Regions from separate parts of the Homo sapiens genome. Here all the other regions are linked to region 3. Evidence: promoter capture Hi-C in human tissues and cell types (Jung and others, 2019). All regions are on one chromosome and are shown on one strand. The core of a region is centred on a gene start or on the middle of the fragment in contact, and the rest is flanking DNA. Distances in the headings are between cores, read along the strand shown.

The links. Contacts are between HindIII fragments. The study calls those that stand out against the background at their distance.
Region 1: a contact is called between a fragment that was not itself captured here and the fragment with the promoter of KCNJ6 in region 3, in 2 of the 25 tissues and cell types used here (stomach and thymus).
Region 2: a fragment that was not itself captured here is called in contact with the fragment with the promoter of KCNJ6 in region 3 in 2 of the 25 tissues and cell types used here (dorsolateral prefrontal cortex and mesenchymal stem cells).
Region 4: a contact is called between a fragment that was not itself captured here and the fragment with the promoter of KCNJ6 in region 3, in 4 of the 25 tissues and cell types used here (H1 embryonic stem cells, IMR-90 fibroblasts, mesendoderm cells and 1 more).

The regions. Positions count from the first base shown.
Region 1 is chr21:38,048,544-38,051,243 of GRCh38, reverse strand. No RefSeq gene overlaps it. Among named protein-coding and RNA genes, the nearest start is that of DSCR4, 71 kb to the left of the region's middle. The HindIII fragment of the contact is 5,383 bases long and covers 1-2,700 here.
Region 2 is chr21:38,112,001-38,114,700 of GRCh38, reverse strand. The region is part of intron 2 of DSCR4 (Down syndrome critical region 4); the gene reads left to right. Among named protein-coding and RNA genes, the nearest start is that of DSCR4, 8.0 kb to the left of the region's middle. The HindIII fragment of the contact is 4,550 bases long and covers 1-2,700 here.
Region 3 is chr21:37,915,025-37,917,724 of GRCh38, reverse strand. It overlaps KCNJ6 (potassium inwardly rectifying channel subfamily J member 6), which reads left to right and starts at 1,268. Exons shown (of 4, transcript NM_002240.5): 1 at 1,268-1,841. The HindIII fragment of the contact is 8,322 bases long and covers 1-2,700 here.
Region 4 is chr21:38,151,007-38,153,706 of GRCh38, reverse strand. All of the region lies in intron 2 of DSCR8 (Down syndrome critical region 8), which reads right to left. Among named protein-coding and RNA genes, the nearest start is that of DSCR8, 31 kb to the right of the region's middle. The HindIII fragment of the contact is 5,317 bases long and covers 1-2,700 here.

The DNA of each region.
Region 1 (2,700 bases), core at 143-2,642, 130 kb before region 3:
TGACCCGAATGCCAACTTCAGCCAGAACAAAGAGCCCAGGCTAAGACTGAGGGACATGGAAGGACCCTCCCAATCTCAGGGAGACCACACGAGGACTGACGCCATGGTCAATCTCAGCCAGGGAAAAGCGGATGGAAAGTCACCCTTTACCAATGGCCACAAGTATAACTGGACCCCAGAAGTCAGGGGGCATTTCAAGCAAAGTGATTTAAAGCATTTCAAGCAAGTAATTGACAGGTGCACAGAGCAGGCTTAAATTTGGTTTTTACCTGATCAAAATTCAATTTACTGTCACCAGAGGCAGGCTATAAAACAGGCAATGTCACCAATAGCTACGGAAAGTTGGCAATACTCAAAGTCTTGGCATTGGATTTACTTTTTCAAATAGCAGAAGTAATGCATAATTGTTGGAGTAACTAGAGCAATGCAAAGATTTTTTTTTAAGCGAATCTTCTTCCCCAGACTGCTCTCCAGCTTCACCATCCTGGGGGCCTAATGTTAATAGCTCATTCTTCAGCCACAGTTTTTCCTTTTCCTATAAATCATTTACAAGTATTTATACACATTTTCAGGATTTTTGTTTGTCTTTCTCAAACTGGTTTTCAATGAATATATCAAAAACTCTTAATTGGTAAGTGAATATAGATCTATATTTTATCTCCTCACTTATGCATCTGCATACACATACGTAATTCTATATGAAGGTAGTCATACTGTATGTGCTTAGTATTTTCAGTGTACACTTTACATTTTTTGCTTGCCTCTCCCACCCCGTCATATCTCCCTATGTGTTTTTCTCCATGTTCATTTAATCATATACAAACACGTACACAGTTGTTTCATGGTCTTTGTTTTGCTTTGAATGCAATCACATTGTACACACACCCACGAACCTTGCTTTTCTCATTCAGCAATGACACTTGGAGTTGGTTTCCTGAAAGTCAACTGCCATTGCCCTTACTGGTTTTTTAATAGTTTATAACTGCATACGATTTCACATTGTGCTTATACCCATAGCTTATTCTGCCATTTCTTGCTTAATGGGCATTCACTTGATCTTCATGTCTTGAGACAAAGTTACATTAACTATCTGTGTACTTCTGTCCCTACGTAGTGAGCTTTTGTCTCTGGGATAGTTTCCTAATACTGGGCTTGGTGATTAAAGAGCATATGGTTTTTAATTTTAATAGATCTCACCAGATCTTGATCCAAAGAGAATGGACCAACTCATATTTCCATTGGCTATGTCAAGTGTACCCACTTCACATTCTCAACCATATAGGGGCTCTTCATTTCTATTGTTGGGCAATCTAAAGTTGTGTCTTATTATTTTAACTGCTAGTGAATTTGAGTATTTTTACCCTTATATTTGATGCTTCTTTGAGTTGGATTTTCTGTAAACTTCTTATTCATATTATTTGCCCAATTTTCTATTTCATTATTTTCTTATTAATCTAAGGCTTTTTTGAGTATATATTTTTCCAAATCCATAGCTCCTTTAATCTGATTATAATAGATATCATTATAAAGTTTTTAATTTTTTATGATATCAAATATATGTTAAATATGTATGTATGGTTTTTTGTTGTGTTTTGTTTTGTTTTTTGAGACGGAGTCTCACTCTGTAGCCCAGGCTGGAGTCCAGCGGCGTGATCTCGGCTCACTGATCTCGGCTCACTGCGAGCTCCACCTCCCAGGTTCCCGGTTCAAGTAATTCTCCTGCTTCAGCCTCCCAAGTGGGTGGGATTACAGGCCCATGCCACCACGCCTAGCTAATTTTTGTATTTTTAGTAGAGACAGGGTTTCACCATGTTTGCCAGGCTGTTTTGAACTCCTGACCTCGTGATCTTCCCACCTTGGGCTCCCAAAGTGCTGGGATTACAGGCGTGAGCCGCCGCACCTGGCCACATATATGTTTTCATACATGTGTGTATATACATATAATAAATACATATACGTGTATATATCTACATAAATCCAGTCTGGATATTTTAACTCACTTAAAATCTCCTGAATTCCTAGATTGTATTTTTAGTCTCCTAGATTTTCTTCTAATGTTTTTATTTCTACAATACTTACATTTTAATTTTTAAAGCATCAGTTCAATCATCATTGCCAAGTTTAAAAGTTACTCCAAAATGCAGAGGATTAAAATGGTGGCCATTTTATTTTTCCTGTGATTTTGTAGTTCAGGAACTCAGGAAAGACTCAGCTAGGCAGTTCTGGTTTGGAGTCTTTTGTATGGAAACAGTCAGTTGCCAGTGGGGCCTGAAAGTTCAACTAAGCTGGATGCTCAAGGTAGCTCTTACATGTGGCTGCAGCCAGGTCAGCTGGGCTGTTAGCCAGAACACCCACGTGTAACTTCTTTAGCAAGTCAATCTCAGCATGGCCTTTTCTTACCCACCTCTGAAGTTATGCAGCATTATTTCAGAAGTTTAGGTTTCCAGAAGTACCCTGCGGCATTCAAACAATTTCCCTGGAACACACCATTATTTATGCCATGGAGAGAAGGGCAGAGAAGTGTGGGCCAATCCTTTTCCACCTCACCTAAATCTCTTGCTGGAATAATACTATTGATGATTATTCTTCACGTGTTGAAGAAATAACTACTATTTTCCACCCAACATATTGCCATGATGTCAGAAATAATGGACAGCTATGGCATCCATTCTTATGTCCACATGATGCTGGCACAGTGAC
Region 2 (2,700 bases), core at 158-2,657, 200 kb before region 3:
GGGTTTTCTGAGGGTGATTGGCTGATATCCTTGCATCATTAGGAGTTTGCTGTGGAATTGCTACATTCTGGAAGAAACAAATTTAACCAGTAAATTAAAGAGACAAAGGACTGAAGAGGAGAAGTAGAAGTATAAATGCAGCTGTCCTAGTAAAGGAAGGAACCATGTAAGGGAGAGGAGAGCAAACTTAGAAAGAGTTACACAACCTCAGATATAAGGAATCTCAAGCCGTTTAGAAGAATTATGACCAAAGAGGTCAACCTATAAAATACTACTGGGGGCAGAGGTCCCATTTGGAAGCCAGTAGGATTCCTGATCTGGAAGTTTATAAAGTGGCCATGCTGTATTACACAAGAAAATTCGATGTTTCCTTTTGAGAGTCTGGGAGTCAAGTTTATCCCAATGTTTTAGAATGCAGCCCATCGGTGAGTCTGAGAGAATGGAAGGGCTTTGTCCCATGGGGGGATTGGAAAATAATGTCTACTGGGGACACAAACCACAATTTCTCTTGGGGCCTCCAGCCAAGGAAAGGGGGTTCCACTTATGTCCACTGAGGAGCCTTGAGAGGCACTTTCCAAAGGGGCATCCCACCTATTAGAAAGGACCTCCCAGCATGAGAGCCTTACACTGGATGGATGAACACAGGGTGAGCAGCCCCAGGTCAGTCCACGTATGAATTATACTGGGTGCTGAATCCAGGTATAAGGGGCAAAGGTTGAGGGAAGGCTCACTGTTCTGGTGCTATTTGGGATCATGTTGCTTAAAATGTCCAGAAAAGGATGGCTGGCTTTCTTCACAGGAGAAATTTAGAGTGAGAAGGACGGGGTCTGAGTTCCCCAAAATGTGTGTGCGTTTGCCCTGGTCAAGCTGCCGCTGCCTATTGTGCTGCATGTAGGGACTGGGGACTTTTGACCAGAAGGGTTAGGAGAGAGCCATCCTCCCTTCCAAGCAAGGCAGCCAAACCTGGTTCACTCCTTGGCCTTTAGGCCACACCAGGGAATGGCCCTGGCCAGTGGCCATCAGCTGCTAGAGGGATACTAGAGTTTGTCCACCAGAAGACGGGAAAGGAAAGTAAACTCTAAACTCTCACTCGATCGGGCAGTGACGGTCAAACTTCTTTCCACTGGGACCTTCTGATCCACCAGGGAGTAGCTGCAGTGGGGGGCCATCAGATGTCTCCAGGCTTGGATGCTGTCCACTAAGAGGTTGGAGTTGGAGAAGAGAAAAAACAGTGAACAGGGGAGAGGTCTCCATATGGACCACCAAAATGCTGCTGGTGTGACTGGCTGGGTCCAGCATTGCAGGCAGTGAAAGAATTTACCAAGACAGTCATGGATAAAGAAAGGCAGATTTATTGTAGAAAGTACGAAGATACACTGCAAGAGAACAATGAGGTGCACAGCAGAGAGGAGGTTGTCTCGAAGAGTCAGGGGCTGGAGGGAAGTTTTATAGGCTTGTGCTGGAGAGGGTACGTGCTGATAAGGTCATGCTGCTGGGTCTATGTGCAAAACAAGGTATTTGGGAACAGGGTGTTGTGCAAGTGGGTTGTTGTTGGTTAACCAGTTCTCAGAACGATGGCTTGTCAGCCATTTCTTAGAATGATGGCTCTCCCCCATCCTTGCTCCTGTTCCTGCCAGTTAGGGCTCCTTTTTTTTTTTTTCGTTTTGAGACGGAGTCTTGCTCTCACTGCCCAGGCTGGAGGGCAGTGGCGCGATCTCGACCCACTGCAAGCTCCGCCTCCCGGGTTCACGCCATTCTCCTGCCTCAGCCTCCCGAGTAGCTGGGACTACAGGTGCCTGCCACCACGCCTGGCTATTTTTTTTTTTTTTGTATTTTTAGTAGAGACGGGGTTTCACCGTGTTAGCCAGGATGGTCTCGATCTCCTGACCTCATGATCCGCTAGCCTCAGCCTCCCATAGTGCTGGGATTACAGGCGTGAGCCACCGCGCCCAGCCCCCTTTCTTATATCTATCAACTTATGAGGACTACATGCTCTTCTTGCCTAGGTATGAAACCTATAGTAGTAGTGGAGTTCACAATAATAGCTTCTTCACCATAGCCTCCACACTGGGTCCCAGCACTAGCTCCTCCCTTTTTTCCTTTTGACCTGGGTGATGACAGCTTATCATGGTTGCAAGCATTATCCCTTATATATTTCCTTAACCTTACCAAGCCCATTGTAAGTTGTCTTTTCCTTACAGTTTCTATTAAAAATCCTTGTGGGGACCATGACTGATTCAGAGCATCTATTTGTTTTTAATTAAAAATATATCTTGTAAAATGCTGAGAAGGTAAAATAGGAGAATATTTCAATGACCTTGAATTTGGCAATGACTTCTTAAATCCAAAAGCACAATCCATAAAAAAATTGATAAGTTGGACTTTGTTAAAATTTCAAACTTCTGTTCTGTAAATGACACTGTTCAGAGAATGAAAAAATAAGCCATAGACTGGGAGGATTTTGTGAAACACATGTCAGATGCAGGCTAGTATTTAAGATATACAAAGAACTCTTAAAACTCAATAGTAAGAAACAAACAGTCCAATTAAAAAATAGGCAAAAGATCTCAACAGATACCTTACCAAAGAAGATATACAGATGGAAAATAAGCTTGTGGAAAGATGCTCAACATCATTAGAGACTTTCAAATTAAAACGAGATATTACTACACACCCATTAGAATGACCAAAATCCCAAAC
Region 3 (2,700 bases), core at 19-2,518:
TACGGTTGACTTTTACATGACTTTGGATGCAAATTGACACAAACACCTCTCCATATTACAGTCATTTTTAGAGGGCAGACAGCATTCTTGAGGGGACCTGAATTGCTAGGTAATTAAAATGTATGTATGTAGAATAAAATAATCTTGGAAATAAGAGGTTTCCGTAAGCCTTCTCTCTAAAATAAGGTCACCTTCTTTGAGGTAGAGATTCTGTGCCTTGTGGAAGGAAAGCCACTTCATAAAGCAGCACAAGAATAGCCAGTTATTGAAAGGGCCATTATAAAATTACTAGCCAATGGTATTCGCTACTCTTACAATTTGTCAATCCATTCATCCCTAGGAAAAAGACAGCATAAAAGAGAGTTCTGTTCATAGGTAGAAGCAATTTATGGGAAGACTTTGGAAATGTAGAACCATTGTTTTTGATGACCATAAGAAAAAGAGGGGGTGCAAGAGGGGAGCACTATGAGGGGCCCCTGGAATAACAGCACAAAGCAAGTTAGATTCAAAGAGTGGAGTAGACCTTTGTCTAAGGGGCTTATCCTGACAAATTCAACTTTGAAGGCAGCCTGGGTCATTCTTGGAAAAGGCCATTCTTTGTCTCCAGTGACCCCAGAGACATCATATAAGGATGGGGTGATGATGCAGCAGCCGGGACCAGGTCCCAGTTGCAGTGGACAGGACAGAAGGGACTGAATGGGGCAGCAGGCTGGGGCGCCACCAGGTGCAAGCAAAGCTCAGGGATAGGGCCCCTCCCCTCCGTCCCGGCCGCTCGCTGCGCCCCCTCTGGGCGGTGCAGGCTCCGGCTCCCGCGCCGGGGCTGCCTCTCACGGATTTCAGCCCGGTGGGAGGCAGTGCCCAGAGCCTCTTTTTCCTTATCTCACAAAACCCTAAAAGCCGAACCCCTACAACCAGCAGACAAAACTGCTCCCCGAGCTTCGGCTCTTTCCTGCTTTCCAGGCGTTTCTCCGGGAATAACTTACTTAGTGGCACTGGGAGAAAGGTTGGGACTGGGGGGTCGGGGACCGAAACCCAAAAGATTCCCCCAGCATGGAGCACCCACGTTTCCAGTGGCGGGGGATGCACGTTGGTTTGTGCCCAGCCCGCCCCCACCAAGCCCGGTCCTCGACGCGCTGACACGCTAGCTGGCATGGGCGGCGGGGTGGGCGTCTCTGGGTCTGTGGCTCTGTCCTGCTCGCCCCCGCCCCTTCCTCCCGGACCGCGCCGGCGCTGTGCGGCTTTTTCCCCAGCACGCGGCGCTGCACTCGCTTTTATCTCGGAGCCGCGTCGCTTCGTGCGCTGCCAGCGGGGCTCAGCCAGTCGGCTGGAATTGAGTAGCATTCATTGAATCTGCGGATTTCATGACGTCTCTCTGCGTGGTCCACCACTTTTCTCCTAACCGGGGATTTTTTTTTTCTTCTGCCACTCTTATCTTTCCCCACTTCATTCCACCCAGTCTCCCTCCCCCGTCCCTGCCCAAACGCGCGCCCCTCCGCCCCTCCCTTGGCCCCAGCGCCCAGCCCTGCTCTCCGCGCTCGGCCAGAGGGAGCCAGTCCGGAGACGGCCGCACCTGGCTGGAGAGGCTGGGCGGGCGGAGGGGTGGAGACCCGCGGACGCCGGGAAGCCGGACCTGGAGCCGGAGCAGCCGCGAGCAGAATGGAGTCTCCTAACAGCCTCTCGGTGCTGATGTGAAATTTGACCATCTGATTCCAGTTTTTTTCTTTTCCTTTTCTTTTTTGCATTTCCTTCCCTCGCCATCCGTCGTGTAGTGAATTGTTCAGTCTTGCTCCGTTTCAAGAGAGGAGATCATGATTGAGTGAAGCCACCCCGTCCGCAGCCAGGTAAGCGGTGCGCTGAGCTGCTCGCAGGCGAGGAGCTGGCGTCCACCTGGGCGAGGCGTTCCGTGCTCTCGGGTCCCCGCGTCCCCTTCCCCAGCTCCGCCGTCGCCGCAGGCATCTCCACTCTCATGAGAAACATTGTGCCCAAGTCAGCCGAAAGGCGAGGGAGAAGCCGGTTACATAACAGAAGGGGAATCTGTTTCATACGGTTTTCATTAGCGACTGAAACTCGCACGGGGGGCGGGGGAAGGAGGGGTCTGCATCCCTGGGCTCGCAGAAACCCAGTCAGTTATTGCAGACATCATTTCAACATCCGCTGGCAAAGACTTAAATGCACTGATTAACTGACAGGTGCGGCTTGTGATGTAGTCATTTACAGTTGGGAAAAGCCTATTGTCTTTGTGGAAGGCAGTCTTCTTGTTCTGCTTTGCATGGAGAGGAGAGGAGACAACACGAAAGGGAGGAAAAGTGAGGGTTGGGGAGAAACATGCGGAGAATGGGAAACAGAATACTGTAACTCCTAACTGTTCTCTATCCTTAAAACCGAAGATGTGCTAGCATGACTAAAAACAGTGAATAGGAAGATCTTCCTAGGAGTAAACTGAATTATTTTGTAATTGGAAGGGAAGAAAAAACACTTTAGATAAAATGAGATGTGTGTGGCATTTAGAGGACTGGGTGGCTGTGGATATTTGCTTCCCTGTGGATATATTTTCATTTTCATCAAAACATTAAGCTTGGATTAGTTTTTAAGTGAAATAACATCAGTATTCCCAAAACCCAATAAAAGCCCAGTGGATCCACAGGTACATCTGTTGTACTAGGTGCAATATGGAGAGATTGTCAGGGGGAAAATATATCT
Region 4 (2,700 bases), core at 36-2,535, 240 kb before region 3:
TCCATCCTTGACCTTTCCCATGATTCCTGGACTTGTGTATTCTACTTCCTACTTGACACTTCTGCTTGGATGTCCGATAGACACACAGATTTATGACATAACAATACAAATATTTTATTATCTGTCCCTTAGCCTACAAGATTCTATTGCTCTCCTCTGTCCTGTGTTATATGCTTTCTTTTGCAATGCCAGCTGAAAGGCTGGAAACTTTATCTGTCAGATTCTTCTGCCTTTCAGTTTCTGGTTGCAGCTATATTCTGCTAATGAGGTGCACTAGTGAGAGATTTCAAAGATGAAAGAGCACAGAACATACTCTTCTTCCCCATGCATCAATGTAGGACACGAAAGCTTTGGCAGACAAGAGTTTTTGCGGTGGCTTCTGGGTGATCCATTCCAGTTACTCTTCTCAGTGCTGTAGGGCAGCACTAGTTTTCCTTTACTTTCCTCATCTGAGTGGTAGCAACAACTTCTGAATTCACTGGCCCAAGCAGTGACAGCAGAACTAAATACTACCGGGCACCTTCTCTAACTTGTGTTTCCTCAGCTAATCCAATGCTTTTGAAAGCACTCGATTCCCTTTATTAAACCACTTCATACTTAATACACCTGGAGTGGTTCCTTTTTTCCTGCATGAGTCCTCACTGATACAGCACCTCATCTCCTCAGTTAACACCACCACCATTTACCCAGTCGCTAAAAACAGAAACCTAGCAGTTATCCTTGACTCCTTCTTTCCCTTTACGTCCCACATAAACACAGCGAAAAGTCAGGCTGGATTTTTCTCCAAAATATGTACTGAATCCCATTATTCTACACTACCCCTGCTATAACTACTCTAGTGAAATGCACGGTCTTCTCTCTCCTAAACAGTTTCAGTCATCTACTAACCAGCTTCCACTCTGGTCTCATGACAGTCTGTTATCAATATGTTAGTCAGAGTAATCTTTTTAATATGCAAATAAGTTGCATCATTCTCCAACTCAAAACCATTCAATAGATTACCATCTCAATTCTGATAAGATCCAAACCCCTTACTTTAGCTGACAAGGTCTTGAAACTCCAACCTTTGCCTACCTGAATGGGCTCCGTCCTTCAACCATTACCCTGTTCCAGCTGCACTGGCCAAGTTAATTGTTTGTTTCCACCCACTGTGTATTTAATATTTTCTGTGCCTCCATTGCTTTTTCTCTATTCCTCCCCATGGCTTGTTCTCCCACTGCATTCAGATCTCAAAAATCACCTCCTCAGATCGACCTTTCCAGACCACCCCATCACTTTCACTGCCCCTTCCCCTGCTTTTATTTTTCTTCATAATACATCCCATTATCAAAAATTTTATTTCTTCTTTATTAATTTTTTGAGGGGTTATCTACATTCTCCACTAAAATGTTAGCTTCAAGAGGACTTGGTCAGCTAGTTGGCTGCTGCATCCTATTACCTAGGAACTATGTGCACCTGGCACATAGCGGGAATTCTATAAAAGTGCTTAAATACATATCAGTTGGATTTCTTGCCCCTCTAATCAGAGAGCTTGGATTTTCCAGGAGGAACTGTTGGCTGATTTTCTCAGGATGTCCCCTCCCTTGACCAGCCACAATGATAATATCCTGGGGAAATCAAAAGGAAAGCTTGAGAACCCCGCAGGAGCACCTGTCAAGGGCTGAAACAGGATGGCACAAAGGCTCCTGAAAATGTGGCACGGTTAGCTCACAACTCCTCATGCCAATAATGGCGCACAAGGCACAGAGAAACCAAAGTGATGGAGTGGGATTGATTTTTGGTAAAGTGGTTTATTTTTGATTTTTGAAAGCCCAAGATAATTTGTGATGCAGACATGTCTCCAAAATGTGGTTGGGCTTAGGCTGATGAAAACTTGAGTTACATGCCTCCTAGTCAGAAAATAGGTGAACAAGAAGGTAGCAGAGTATTAGAAAACCTGGCTGAGTTCACTCATCTTCTGTGAATAACTCACAAAATTGATTATTCCAAGGTAGACAAATGAGAGTTGTATGCACAAATGTGCTTTGGCTGAATGTGAAAGTTTTAGAAGGATTAATTACTTAGTTAATCACACATTTTCTAAGTCATTTTCTCTTCCTCCTCTTCCTCCATCTCCTTTCTTCCTTATTCACTTCCATGATTCTTTATTCCTGGAAGCATGTTTTATGCATTATCTCATTTAATCCTTATAACAAACCTCTGAGCTATGGTCTCTGTTTTACAGAAGAGAAACCCAACCCTTCAAGAGTCATCTAGAGGGAATGTGGCACACCTCGACTTCACTCCCTGGTTTCTCCAACTGTAACTCTGCTGCTTCCCCACTTTATGTATCTCTTGGGTTAACTTTTCTTTTCATCACTTATGGATGGTCACTTGTCCCTACTCTTTAAATCCTTTTGTCAACAACAACAAAAGATTCTTAAAGATTTTGAAAGTGCAAAGGAACCTAGAAACAGGATCCAGTGTCATTCTTTCATTTTACAACTCAGGAGACTGAGGCTTAGAGGGGAACAATTGTTTGTTGAAAGTCACATACTGAGTAAGTACTGAGCTATGTCTCCTGACTCCTAATACAGCATTCCTTCTTCCTATCAATAGTCAAGTACTTTTCCTCTGCATAATTGATTTCATACTATTCAAATTTCATATGAAGATGCACTAATGAGAAATGGCTTAAAATTAAAACTTGGGTTGCATTAA